Regions from separate parts of the Homo sapiens genome. Here region 2 is linked to region 1. The links are contacts of gene promoters, found by promoter capture Hi-C in blood cells and fetal thymus (Javierre and others, 2016). All regions are on one chromosome and are shown on one strand. Each heading gives the region's core, a stretch centred on a gene start or on the middle of the fragment in contact. The rest is flanking DNA. Distances are from core to core; before and after follow the strand shown. Region 1 overlaps SNX10-AS1 (SNX10 antisense RNA 1). Region 2 holds the start of HOXA5 (homeobox A5).

What was found. The method cuts DNA at HindIII sites, captures the fragments that hold promoters and counts their contacts. A CHiCAGO score of 5 or more calls a contact.
Region 2: the fragment with the promoter of HOXA5 here is called in contact with a fragment that was not itself captured in region 1 in 6 of 17 cell types (neutrophils, M1 macrophages, naive B cells and 3 more); the score reaches 9.4 in neutrophils.

Annotation. Positions count from the first base shown.
Region 1 is chr7:26,384,865-26,391,775 of GRCh38, forward strand. The region is part of intron 1 of SNX10-AS1 (SNX10 antisense RNA 1); the gene reads right to left. Among named protein-coding and RNA genes, the nearest start is that of LINC02981, 10 kb to the right of the region's middle. The HindIII fragment of the contact is 2,407 bases long and covers 1,835-4,241 here.
Region 2 is chr7:27,138,036-27,144,946 of GRCh38, forward strand. It overlaps HOXA5 (homeobox A5), which reads right to left and starts at 5,646. Exons shown (of 2, transcript NM_019102.4): 1 at 5,011-5,646; 2 at 3,017-4,050. The coding sequence starts at 5,572. The coding sequence ends at 3,800. HOXA3 (homeobox A3) reads right to left here. Exons shown (of 6, transcript NM_153631.3): 2 at 2,048-2,151. HOXA-AS3 (HOXA cluster antisense RNA 3) reads left to right here and starts at 2,329. Exons shown (of 3, transcript NR_038832.1): 1 at 2,329-2,504. RefSeq lists an enhancer at 1,475-2,053. The HindIII fragment of the contact is 13,335 bases long and covers 4,115-6,911 here.

The DNA.
Region 1 (6,911 bases), core at 1,788-4,287:
CAATATATGTGTAAATTATGAAGATGGTTTATGTGCTTCTGCTGTTGGAAACGTCTTTTAAGGTGCTATAAGGTATATGTGTATTTTAGACTTTATGTATTTTCCTGTAATAAGAGAAAAAGACACCACAGAACTTAAAATATGCAAAAGAAGAAATAGTTTACACTAGTGTAATGAATCAATTCATGTTAAAAACATTTATTGAGCATGTACTATATTTAGAAGATTGAGCTGGGTACTCCAGCAGATAGATGATAACAAACCTTCAGCCCCTGTTCTTGGAAGCTCTCAATCTGAGGGCAGACAAACATGAAAACATCTAACTATAATGCAAGACAGAATGAATCAGGTGCCATAGTTGGGTGTAGTGGACATCCATTATCTTACCTGCCCAATATCCATTCTCTTCCTGCAAGACCCTTGGTATTTCTCAGGGACCACCCCTCTCCACTCTCAGTCCCTGTGGTTTGAGTGGAGCTGAGTCAACCTTCATCCCCACAAGGGGGTGTAACCCAAGTCTAGTCAATCAGAGCAATTGTATTTTCCTGGCCCAAGTGATGAGTGGTTCATAAGTGGTCACATGCCCAGTCAAAACCAATGACCTTTGTGCTACTGTTGAGAAAAGAAACTCTTTCCTCCTCTGGGATGGCTGGATAGGATGAAAGCCTGGAACTCTGGGAAGCCCATATTGCCACTGCCTGAAAATGGAGCCCACACCAAAGGTAATTGAGCTGAGAGATGAAATGAGTGGGTCCTGATGACATCTTTTAAAACTGTCGGGTATTTCCCATGTCAAGCACTGCAGTAAGCATATCATTCACTGTTTTATTCATTCATTCGCTCACTTGCTGACTTTACCTGCGCAGTTGCATTTAATCCCTATACGGTAGTTCCCCAGCTGCTTTCTGAGGTCTCAGCTACTGGCCATCCACTGCGGTCCAAAAATCGGTGAGTACAGTACAATAAAATATTTTGAGAAAGAGACCACATTCACATAACTTTTATTACAGTATATCGTTATAACCACTCTATTTTATTATTATTGTTATTAATTTCTTAGTGTGCCTAATTTATAAGTTAAATGTTATTATAGGTATGCACATATAGGAAAAAACATAGTGTATACGTGGTTCAGACTGTCTGAGGTTTCAGGCATCCACTGAGGGTCTTGGAATATACCCCACTGGATGAGGGGGGACTACTTTAACATTAATAGAAAGTGGGTACCATTATTCTCATTGTATAGATGAACCTACTGCTAATTAATGGAAAAGGTGGGATTGAACACAGAATCAGATCTGTTTCTAATACCCTATATGGTTTCTCAAGGAGAAAATAGCTCTTATAAAACCAATGTATTCTCTTAGCACCTAGAATACAAGAGTGCATTCACTTAGAAGGGGCCCCTTATGTATTTCTCGACTGGGTGCATATTCATGGTGTAAAGAATAGTGGTGCTGTTACTTAGAGTGGGAAGCACAGGAAGAGGTGCAGGAGGAAGAGAAGGGGAAGATGAATTCAGGTGCAGCCAGGATGTGGGTACAGGAAGAGATGATATGTCCAGAGGTGAAAATGTGAGGTTGGAATAGGGCGAGAGGTAGAGAGGAACATTTAGAAATTTTCTGAGAGGAGAATTGATGAAGGACATCTTTCCACAAATGTTATCTCAGTGAGGCCTTCCTGGACCCCAAATTGCAACCTCCTTCTTCATTCCCTTTTCCTTACCTTCCCCATCTCTCCTCCCTGCTTTGTATTCTCATAGCATCAATCACCTGTATCTAAATAGATATCTGTTTGTTTTTATCTATGTCCTCTGCATCCCCATGACAATATAAGCTTTATTTGAGGAGGGAGACAGGCTGTTGTTCACGGTGGTATCCCACATGCCTAGACTAGTGCCTGGCACATAGGAGGTGCTCAAAGTATATTTGTTGAATTAATAAATGAAGGAGTGGAATTGAGTGAGATTGCTCACTGATGGCAGAGAAAAAGAAGGGTAGACAGAAGACCTCAGAAGAGGAGACCCTGGAAGTGACTGAGACAATCTAAGAGGCAGAAGACAAATCAAAGAGCCATTCCCAAGAATAAGGAAAGCAGAGGGCTTCCAGAGCAGCACAGCCAGCAGGGTCAAACGTTGCTGAGGGGCAAAATATGGCCGAGGCCATTACATCTTTGGTAATGTTACACAGCATCATGGTGTGGAGGCTCTTGGGATTCAGAGTTAAGCATGAGGGTTTGAATTTCAGTCCTGCCATTTACTAATTTACTAGTTATGTAAATTTGAATAACTCTCTAAACTTTGGAGGCTTGGTCTGTTTACCTGTAAAATGGGTATAATACTGACCCTACCTCAAAGCATAATTTTAAGGATGCACTGAATTATTATATGTGAAAGACATGTATATGTGTGAATTATTACCATTATCAGTGATTTGCAGTGGGTAGAATAAATATCTACAAATAAAGGAAGTCATGAAAAATTTTGATAAACCGTTATTGTTTGGGAATAATTGATTTCAAGACAAAACAAAATACATGATGATTCTTGCTGTCATTTTCAAACACTATGCATATATATTTGAAAATGAGCATTTGCATTTATGAATTTGAATTTGGGGCATTTTCTTTATCAGGACTGTTCCCGGCTTTTTTATACCCCTTCTTACTTAGGCTATTTATGCAAATGCACAATCCCAGACAGACAAGAGGCAACATTTCAGTTCTCTGTCAATTAGGTTGGAGAGCTGCATGCAACCATTCCCTTCCTTCCTCCACCCCCCTCGCAAGCCAATCTTATTTTTTACCCTTTGTATCAGAATGTTGCATATCCCAAGTCTTTCTAGAAAATCACTGATTTTATTTATGCATTAGCCTTTTATGTTGTAGGTTTTGAGTTAGATTTAGTCCTGGTGGCTGAAAGTTGAACATTTTCTGAATGTTTTCCCCAGAACCACAACCATATTTGGCAGCAAAGAAGCTGGAGGGATGAATAGACTTCCATGTTGCTTGGTTGTAGATAGGGAGATGCTGGCAGAAATTTGCAAGTATTTGCATATATACAATTGTCTGTGATGTTTGCTTCCACTCGTGCTCTCTTTCTCTGCCCTCTGTTCTCTTTGTGCAGTGAATTACTAATACAAATACAGATAATGAAATTTCTGATCCCAGACTGCAAAGCAAACGCACATTTTGGAAGGTATCTGGGGAAAATGGATAGGTTCTTTTGATCTTGTTGCTTTAGCCAGACAAGGAAATAAGGAGAAAGTAATTACAGGGACTTGTCTCTGAAGGTAGAATGAGTGGCACTGACAGGGTTTCTTTTCACAGAGTCTTGTAGAAATGCTATTTTCTTGTTAATACCAATAGGTATTATTCCTGGAAATAGAGTTTATGTATTAAAATGTGTGTTCAGCAGATGGGACACCGTCCACAGGAAGCAGAACAAGTTCTGTCCTTGTGGCTACAGGACAGAGTGGATCTAGGGGTGGGTGAAATTTGTCCCCAGGCTTGAGGCATTCCCCAGGGCAGCCATGACAGTGCAAATTCTAGAGGTGGAGTGAAAGTGCATTTGTCCCTGAAAGCATCCTGTGGTAAATCACCGCTCTTGCATATTCAGAAGTCGTCAGTTTCATAAGCAGAAGCGTGACTCTGTTGGGCAACTGGAGGTGGTAACTCAGTGGCTCTGATTAGGTGGCAGTGATAGCAGGAATGCTCAGCTTGCCTGACTTAAGAATATGTTCCTATTGGCTATCAGAAAGCTCCCTGGAGAAAAGAGCTGAAATGCAACTTTAATTGGCAACTTTTTAGGGTAACAAAGAACATTTTCTTATACCTATCCCTGTGGTGGACCTAAAGTTAATACATTGGTAAGTGAGCAATTCGAATTAAGTCCATGCTTTCTTAAACAAACAAGTAAACAAAGAAGTTTTAATTGTCAGTGTACTATGTACTTTATGGCACAACACGATCACCTTTGGTTTAAGAAATGCGTATCGGCTGGGCGCACTAGTGCATGCCTGTAGTCTCAGCTCCCTTCCCTGGGAGGCTGAGGTAGGAGGATCCCTTGAGTCCGGGAATTCAAATTCAGCCTAGATAATATAACAAGACCTTGTCTAAAAAAAAGCATGCCAATTCTTTTCTTCTTTTAAAATAATTTTGATTTTACCTATTGTTGACCTTTCATCATATATCATGTGGTAAACACCAATTCTGTTTGTCTGAATAGGTTTCTAAACAACTTAAGCTTGTGCTGACAGCTTGTATAAAAAGAACAAATATTTGTTTTTTATTTCATGCAAATATCGCATGCTATCAAACAAGACGGGCTTAAAGAGGCTAGGATTTTGTCTTTCATAGCTCACTAAGGGACAGCTAATCTATAGCAGAAATAATTTTAAATGTAGAAGTGCAGTGTGGAAAATACAGACCTCCCCCTGGTTGAAAACACATTAGTAGAAAAAAAAATTTAGCTGAAAAAGGTTATGAAATGCTTATCTTGTTAGACAGCTTAAAATATGTTGGGAATAGAATAAAAAAGAGAGAAATGGTTTATAAGAAAAAAGACTGTTCTAACAGCTATTACTTTATTGGAAATTAGTTTAGTGACATTAAAACTCTTTAAATAAACATATATGAAATGATATAACGTTGTGTTGAAACAAGGTTAAGTAAAAAACTGAAATAGCATTATTGTGGATAAAGTAGAGATCAAACCCTTGAAATTACGGATATTAAGGAACTCATTGGGCAATCACTGGGTTCTTTGCTTTCTTTTCATTCTTTCTTGGCATATCGTTTATGGCCCATAATGAGGTAGGTAGAGATACATTGTTATAGCTGCAGTTTAGTGGCAGAAAGTGAATGAAAGAAAATTTCTCTTAAAAATGAAAACAATATTCATCCTAATGATGCTGTTGGACTGTCCACTATGGAGATTTAAACTAGCATATGAAATTCATTTACAGATATAATGGATACCAATCTAAATATGAAATATTCATATGTATGATATTGCTTCTGTTTGGATTCCTGCTGTCTGCCATTCTAGGTGGGATTGTGGATGGATTTTCCCCTCTCACTCATTTCCTGTTCCACAATGCCTACTGTGCAATATTACTGGGCTATGTCAGCCACCTAGCTACCTTCCTGGTGTGACCGCTGTTCCTACTTTCCTTTATACAATGAAGAATTAACTGTTCAGGTACTGTCATCTGCCTTATCCAACACACTTCATAACACAGGGAGAGAATTTTAATAAGACCTCCAAGGGGCCTGTTGCCATTTTTAGAGAGAAGGTTTCCTACAAAGGAAGTGCATGGAAACTCCCAAGAGAAAGCTAAAACCCCCTGCTGAGAGGAACCCGTGTCATCCCATTTTATTGTCTACCTGTCACCACAGCCCTTGCATGATTCTGACAGGCTGCTCTTTTCTCTTGTAGCCAGTGCTGCTTAATGTCATTTTCTTGGTTGAACATCTTTATTTCTGACTTGTTACAAACCATTAACTAGTTTCCAGGTTTCAATGTCCTGGCTACTTTTGACTAGTAAGTCATTTGGCATAACAAGGTTTCCCTTTATCTTCTTGCTAAAGAAAATCTCTACAAGAAATGATCAGTGTTCCAATTTTTATGAATCCTAGCAGATAGGAAGTGCCTGTCATCGGATGCGAGGTATCTTTTCTGAAAGCATATTCCAGTTCATATAATAGAACTTGACAGACACACTGGGTAACCATTACACTTTCTGTAGAAGGCTTGAAACAATTTAGGTGAAAAGAAGAGAATTTTACAAATATACTTGCCTGGGATGGTTTGAAATAAACATAACAGCATTGTTTATAATTAGATTCCTTACATGAAATGTTTTCACACATAAAATTTTTAAAATATATTTTGAAAAGCATTCAGTAGTTTAACAGTTGTCAGTCTCTATAAATACACTTTTCAAGTGCTAGTTATTTGTAGTATTGCTAAAATGAAGACTGGCTGCTTTGGACAATGATTTAAAAATAAAATATATAGATGTGTGGCTTGACGACATATTGCTAAAGCATTAAAAAACTTAGACTTTAGTTTGCTTTGTATAAAGCTACTCAAACATGAAATTAATATAACTAATTTTTAAAATTACTCTATTTTATTAAAGTTTCAAAAATGTACTTTTTTTTTTTTTTTAAAGAGATGGGGTCTCACTCTCTTGCCCAGACTGGAGTGTGGTGGTGCTATCTTAGCTCACTACAGCCTCAGACTCCTGGGCTTAAGCAATCCTCCCACCTCAGCTTCCCAAGTAGCTGGAACCACAGGCGAATGTCACCACGCCTGGCTAATTTTTGTATTTTTAAAATAGAGGCAGGTCTTGCTATGTTGCCCAGGTTGGTCTTGAGCTCCTTGGCTCAAGTGATCCTTTCATCTCAACCTCCTAAAATGCTGGGATTATAGGCATGAGCTGCCAAGCCCAGCCAACTTTTTTAAAGAAATGAACTTAAACATCATGAGCATATATGTTAATGTAATGTTACATTATTTAAATCTTAAGTAAGAATATTTATTTATCCTTGCCGAATTAATGGATTAAGGATATTTAACGATCAGTTACTGACCCAGCAACTCCACTTCTAGGACTCTATATTAGTGAAACAGTTGAGCAAGTGCATAAGTATGTATGTTCAGTATATGCGGCATTGTAAATCATGAAAAATCTGAGACAGCTTACGAATATATTAATAAGGGAATGGATAAATGAGCCAAAGGACACCTCTAAAGTGGAACACTACATTGTTGTTTAAAAGTTGAGCTACAAATGTATGTGCTGATGTGGGCGGTGTCTTTGATATGTTGTTGAGTGGAAAAAGCAGCCTGCAGCAGTGTGTGTAGAGTGTGAGACCATTTCTGAGAACAGTGGGAACTCTCTCTC
Region 2 (6,911 bases), core at 4,396-6,895, 760 kb after region 1:
ATTTTCCAATAAGGAGCCCAAAATTCAGAGCAGCAAAACAAGGAATCCAGTATTCTCACAGACACATAACATTATAAAAGAGAACCCATACCCATGTAGAGTTTATATCCTTGTTCCCACTAAGATGTGGACACATCTTCTTGAATGCTGAAATACCAATGTTTACTTTAATAGGTTACACACAATGACTTCAGGATTCTTCACCTTGCCACTATTCATGAGAAGTAGCACTTGTGGGAGGGTTTTGATTTTTCAAAAAAACTTTCTAGGTTTTGCTTTCTGGACCTCTGACTTTAGGGACATCTGTTGGACTTATGTTGAGTGTAGGTGGCCTCTGCACAATAAGTTTATTGAAATTCCAAATCTATACTTTCAATTTTTTCACTTTAAGCACTTAATAGGTATCTTTACCAATTAATACTTGCTGAAAACTGCCCAGCTCCTAAGGAGAAAAGCAGATCCTATTTTTTGTTTCATTTCTGAATGCAGTAGGAGAATTTGGCTTAATTCCTAAAATAGGATTGGAGGAAATCTACTGGGTCCCTTGTGGGTACCCATCCAGAAAAAGATCCCAGGACAGGCCACAGTCCCCAGTCACTGGGCTTGGGTTTTGCCATTGAAGAATATGGGGGGTTGGGGCCAGAAGGGGTGACTGGGGCCAATATGGAATTGTGCCCAGGATAAACTTATTTCACCTTACTTCACCCATTGGTGCAATTTTGGAGACTGTTCTGGAAATCATAGATTATGTAAATTTCCTGGGATCAAACAGAAAGAGCAACTAACAAAAGAAAGGCGGAAATCTCCTACTGACAAAGGACCAATTTCTTCCCTAAACTACCGTTTATGATGTGTCAGGAAAAACAACCTAATGGCTCTGGGGACTTTTAAGTTGGGCACTGAAGACACCTCAATTTCCCCCAAAACTTTAGAGCACAGTTTGGAACAGAGAATTCGCCTGTATGTTGAGGGGGAGTGAATTTCTCCAATCTTAATGTTATCCAGGGGGCCGCCTAAGTTGCCTTCTGAGGGTCCTGTGCGTAGATGTTTTTAATTCTACAAAGAAGGAGAGGAACAGGAAAGAAGAGAGGGAGAAGAAAGGCAAAGCGGAAGAAAAGAAAGCGCTTTAACCCCTTTCAATTAGCCTGGGGATTCAAAGACTAAAGTTAAATCCGGCCATAAAGTTTATTGCTTCAGACTCACAAGCGGCTGAGAACAGTCCCGCCGAAATAAAAAGAACATGCAGGCAAACAGGGTTCAGGGCCTGGTCCCGGGTGCGGGGGAGGGGGTCCTGAACACCCCCCCACACCAGGGTGGGGATCCTTGGTCCTCAGGGTCCAGTGGGCGCTAGCAGCCCAGGATCCACCTTGCAACCCGGGGGCCCAGCCTGGAGGTGCAGCCCCAGCCTCGCCGGCCTCTGCCACCCTCCCGCTCTCGCGAGCTAGCCTGAAACCCGGCCCCGAAGGCCGCCGCCTCAATTCAGCCCTGCCAAATGACCCCGGCCCGCGAAGACATATTGCCACAGCCCCGTAAGGAATCCCGCCAGAGTCCGCCTCGGCCCTGCCCCGGCCTTTCTTTCAAACTCCTGAGCGCAGCGCGGCCCTCGGCGCCCGCGGCCGGCGCCCCACTGTCTCCCAGCCCCGACCCCAGGGCTCCGCGACCCCCAGGAGCTGGCCCCGGCCGGCCCAGCAATTGCGCGGGGGACTGGGGGTGCGGCCCTGCCAGGTCCCCACACACAGGCCCATTCGCACACAAAAATCATCTTTTTGCACGCCGGCGGGAGCAGCGGAAGTCATTAACATCCGCGGTTGTGCTGCAATTAAAGTTAGGCCTGGGGATGCGGCGCGGCCACAGGCGCTGCTCACTCTGCTGCCTCCGCAGAGTTGGCTCCTGGCGCTGCTCTTTTGGGCAGAGGGAAAGTTTGCTCTGCCTTTTCGAATTCAGAGGCAGCCTGAGTTATTGAACCAGAGAGAGAGAGAGAGAGAGAGAGAGAGAGAAAGTTTCCAAAGTACAAATAAACTTGAAAGCGCTCAGGAGGCGAGCTTACCTTAACTCGGAGGGAGCCATTTTTCAGAGAGTTTTGAGAACTTGTGGTTTGGACACTTCTGGACCTAAAATTGACAGTTTGAATGGCCAGGCGGCACACGTAGCCTGCAAAAGAGTCAAATGGAGTCCAGCGTTAGTGAGATTATATGTTATGTGGTATATAATGTTGGATGTCAACTCCCCAAAACCATAAAACTTACTTTAATGGCCCCACGTGACGTTTTATAGCCAGTGAGCCGATCTGTCTGTGCTATGGATGATTTTACGATCTAATTCATAGACAAAACCCTATTCATTTGGCACCCAAATGTCATATAGCCGGAACTGGGGCTTATAAAGTTTACTGTTTTATAACTTTTAAAAGGAAAGACGGCATCAGTGTAAGCAGTCGGTAAATGTGCAAATCTCTAGTTGCGCTTTAGCTGCTCTGAGGAGTTTCCCAATCGAGCTAGGATGGGGTAAGTACCTTCAATTTGTAGCAAATTAATTGTAGCAAAAGAAGCCAACTGGGTCCCGGGTGAAGAGTGGGGAAGGGGTGCTGGGATGGGTTAAGGGCAGAGGGTTTGGGGTCCACAGACAGACATAGCAGCGTCTTCAGCAAGTGGAGGCCTAGGACAGCCTTAGGAAAGAGGCAGGATCTGTGTGGCCTGAGGGCGGCTAACAAAGCCCTGGGTTTTTTCTCCTTTTTTCTTGCTCTTTCTCTCTTTTTTGTACCCAGCAAGTTAACTTGGTTTCCTCAGAGATGGACAGGGTGTTCTGGGGCTTTGGAACAGCCTACAGCTTTTTCCACCTTCTGCCCTGAACTTTGCAATGGGTCAGAGGTAGGGAAGCGATGGGACAGTGTTGGTATGAGGTCTCCCTGCACAGGTCATCTGCTCAGGTAGCCTCAGACCCAACAGCTTCCAAGACTGCACAGACAGACAGAAAAGCAGACAGAGCCGCTCACTATTTGGCACAAACCAGACCAAGAGAACTTACAATAGAAAGTTTATTTTTTGTTCCAGTCAGTATTTTTTCCTTAAAAACAAATACAAAAAAAAAAAAAAAAAAAAAAAAGCTGATCACAGTTTGCTTAAAACAGCCAGACTTGGACAATATTTGTAACTTTGTTCACAAAAACATACATCACTGAAGCTGCGCTTATAAGAGCCACTTCCAGAGTTCGTGCAAAGGGTCCTATAAAGGCACGCAGGGACACACCGCTTGGAGTCACAGTTTTCATCACAGAGTCACTAGTCACTACACGTCGAACAAGTTGTGTCTCATCAAGTCACCTCTACAACAGCATTAATTACACAAGGAATATAGGTAGTTTGAATAAAAATATCTTTAACAGCTTGGAGCTATTGAGACAGGAACACTTCCACGCACATGCACAGTTAAACAACTTGAGTGCAACACACAACATTGGCACTAAACGAGATTGAAGGGGGACTTTTTGTGTGTTTTTTTTTCTCTTTTCTTTTTTTGTTATAGTTACTTCAAGTAACACAGCTTGCTTCATATAAATAAGTTAAAACATCTATTTTTTTTCAAGACAAAGCCATTCAGGACAAAGAGATGAACAGAAAGCAGATCTACTTATACAGGCGCTATAATGGCAATAAACAGGCTCATGATTAAAAGATGAATTAGGGCAACGAGAACAGGGCTTCTTCACAGAAGGAACACAAGGGAGTTTCAGAAAGTCACCTTAGTACTGACACTACGCGGGATCCGCTAATACTGCTCAGTACTTTAAACGCTCAGATACTCAGGGACGGAAGGCCCCTCCTGCCGCGGCCATGCTCATGCTTTTCAGCTTATTATCTTTTTTCCACTTCATTCTCCGGTTTTGGAACCAGATTTTAATTTGTCTCTCGGAGAGGCAAAGAGCATGTGCTATTTCAATCCTCCTTCTGCGGGTCAGGTAACGGTTGAAGTGGAACTCCTTCTCCAGCTCCAGGGTCTGGTAGCGCGTGTAGGCCGTCCGGGCCCTTTTGCCTTCCGGGCCGCCTATGTTGTCTGCAATAGAAAAGTCAGCGGTTTAGCCACCAACTCCTGTCTTCCAAAGTCCGCCAGGGGGACAAGCTTGGGTCATGAGCAGGGAACCCAGGCGAAAAGCTCAACAAGTTCTGCCTACCAGCCCGCACACCCCTCCCGAATTTCCTTCTCTCTTCCTTTCTAGAAAGAAAACAATACGATTTGGACCCTGGGAACAATCTGCCCATCTGAGGCTGGGGCCGTGTCCCGGCGGACTCCGGCTTTCCCTGGCCCCTCTCCTGCCCCCTCCGCCCTGCCCCGGGCGCCCCGATCGGGAGGCACAGCCCTCCCAGGCTGCCCACCGCACAGAAACCCAGGAAGCAAGGCCCTTTCCTGAGCGCCCAAGTGGCCTTCGGGTCACCCTCCCTCAAAGTTCCAGCCCCGAGAGCCGCCTCCCGTTTCCAGCCTGCAGGGTTGGGGAGCCTGTTTTCTTTTTCTTCCCTTTCCTTCTCTCTCCCTCCTGCCCCCAAAATTCAGAATCCTGCAGGCTCTCGCCTCGATTCTTTCCCCCAAGCCCCTTTTCGGGGGCTGTAATTAGTAACGCTGTTTCCCCAGCGTAGCCCTCCTCATAAATTATCCGCCGTGACAAGCCCGATTCACGGCTGCTACAGCCATCCTCTACCTCTCTGCGCCTTGCTCGGCTGGCCTGACCCGGGAGCGCGTCCCAAGGCGTGGGGTTCCAGAGGGGTTTTTTGCTTCCTCCCCCTTCCAACGTCTAAACTGTCCCAGAGAACGCCCATTTCCCCCACTATTTGTGAGCGCAGGGTGCTCGCAAAGAAGAGGAGGAAGGAGGAAGGCAGGGGAGGGAGAACGGCAAGGAGAGCTCCGCAGGGCTGGGAGAAATGAGACCAAGAGAGACTGGGAGAGGGCGGCAGAGAAGAGAGGGGGGACCGAGAGCCGCGTCCCCGCGGTCGCGTGGATTTAGAAAAAGGCTGGCTTTACCATGACTTATGTGCAGCTTGCGCATCCAGGGGTAGATCTGGGGTTGGGCGGGCGGCGCCGGGCTCGGCTCGCTCTGCGCACTCGCCTGCTCGCTGCTGGCAGGGGCGTCCTCCTCGGCTCCGGACGCCGTGCCAACCCCCTCTCTGCTGCTGATGTGGGTGCTGCCGGCGTCGGCCGAGGCGCCGCTGGAGTTGCTTAGGGAGTTTTTCCCGCCGTGGTGGCTGTCGCTGCCGGGCGAGGGGGCCACGGCGGAGCAGGGCAGCGGATCGGGCTGAGGAGAGTGCGTGGACGTGGCCGGCTGGCTGTACCTGGGCTCGGCGGGCGCCGCGCTGGCGCTGGCAGCGTAGCTGCGGGCGCGCTCTCCGGAGCCAAAGTGGCCGGAGCCCGAGCGGCCGACGCTGAGATCCATGCCATTGTAGCCGTAGCCGTACCTGCCGGAGTGCATGCTCGCCGAGTCCCTGAATTGCTCGCTCACGGAACTATGATCTCCATAATTATGCAACTGGTAGTCCGGGCCATTTGGATAGCGACCGCAAAATGAGTTTACAAAATAAGAGCTCATTTGTTTTTTGATATGTGTGCTTGATTTGTGGCTCGCGGTCGTTTGTGCGTCTATAGCACCCTTGCACAATTTATGATGAATTATGGAAATGACTGGGACATGTACTTGGTTCCCTCCTACGTAGGCACCCAAATATGGGGTACGACTTCGAATCACGTGCTTTTGTTGTCCAGTCGTAAATCCTGCCTGATGACCTCTAGAGGTAAACTCGTGCACTAATAGGGGAGTTGGGTGGAGGCGAGGGGGGTGGCGCGCGCGCCCCGGGCGCGTGCCCGCCGCCAGTTGCCGCCGTTCAGCCGGACTCGAGCGCCACCCGCTGGAGGCAGGGCTCATCGCCCAGCTTCCGACCGGGGGCTGCAAGGGCCGGGGTCGAATTGAGGTTACAGCCCATTATGGCAAAATTATTGCATTTCCCTCGCAGTTCCATTAGGATGTACCAATTGTTAGGCCGTCAGCTGCCGATCGCGCGCCCGGCGAGGATGCAGAGGATTGGGGGGAGGTGGTGACTTGCATTTTATTTACAACAACTTTATTTCCCCCGTTTTGCAGCCCCTCTTATTTTTGTGTCGAGGTTGGGGTCGGTACTGACCGTCCTGCCAGCAGCTCTGAATTTTGAAAATACAGATATCACCTTCGGGGAAGGGGGAAAGCCATTTAGCCAATTGGAGAAATAAATCCTGCCCGCAGCAGCAGCAGCTACAATTACGGCTCTGTTTTTGCGAGCGCATGAGGGACAGTGTCCCTGCCGCTCTTAAATGACAGGCGTCTATTAAAGATAGCTTTTGTGTAGTGTTTCTCCAAGGCGAGGTCAAATTCCATACACTTTTATAACCGTAGTCGATTTTTCTTTCGTGTGAATATGGTTTTCGTGTCATTAGTTTGCGATTTGATTTGCTTACGTATCCAGCCTGGAAAATCTTCATCACAGGGTCCGGTTCCTCGAGCCAGCCGGGCCCCAAGTCGGAGGGTTCTCCTTGAACCCAGCGAGTGGGCCCAGGCTCCCTGCAGCCACAGAGGCTGCCTGGGGTCTGGGGATCCGTGGGGCGGGTTACTGGGGTCTTGCTTAGACCTCCAGGAGTAAAATGAGGGCGATAATGGAAGCATTCCTTGGCAGTGCCTAGTATCTCTGTAGTTATTTTCCACGGCTCCGAAAGACTCAAGTAAATCACAAATATAGCTGAGAGGCAAGTGGAGTCTCCCCGCTGGAGGCCCGGCGTTGCAGGCGCCCCTGGCACGTCTGGAAGCCAGGACTCTGGCGGCTCCCATGGCCCTGGGCCCCTCGTTGGGTCCTGAACGCTGCTGTGGCGGCGACGCGGGCGCTATCGGAGGCTGGGAGCGG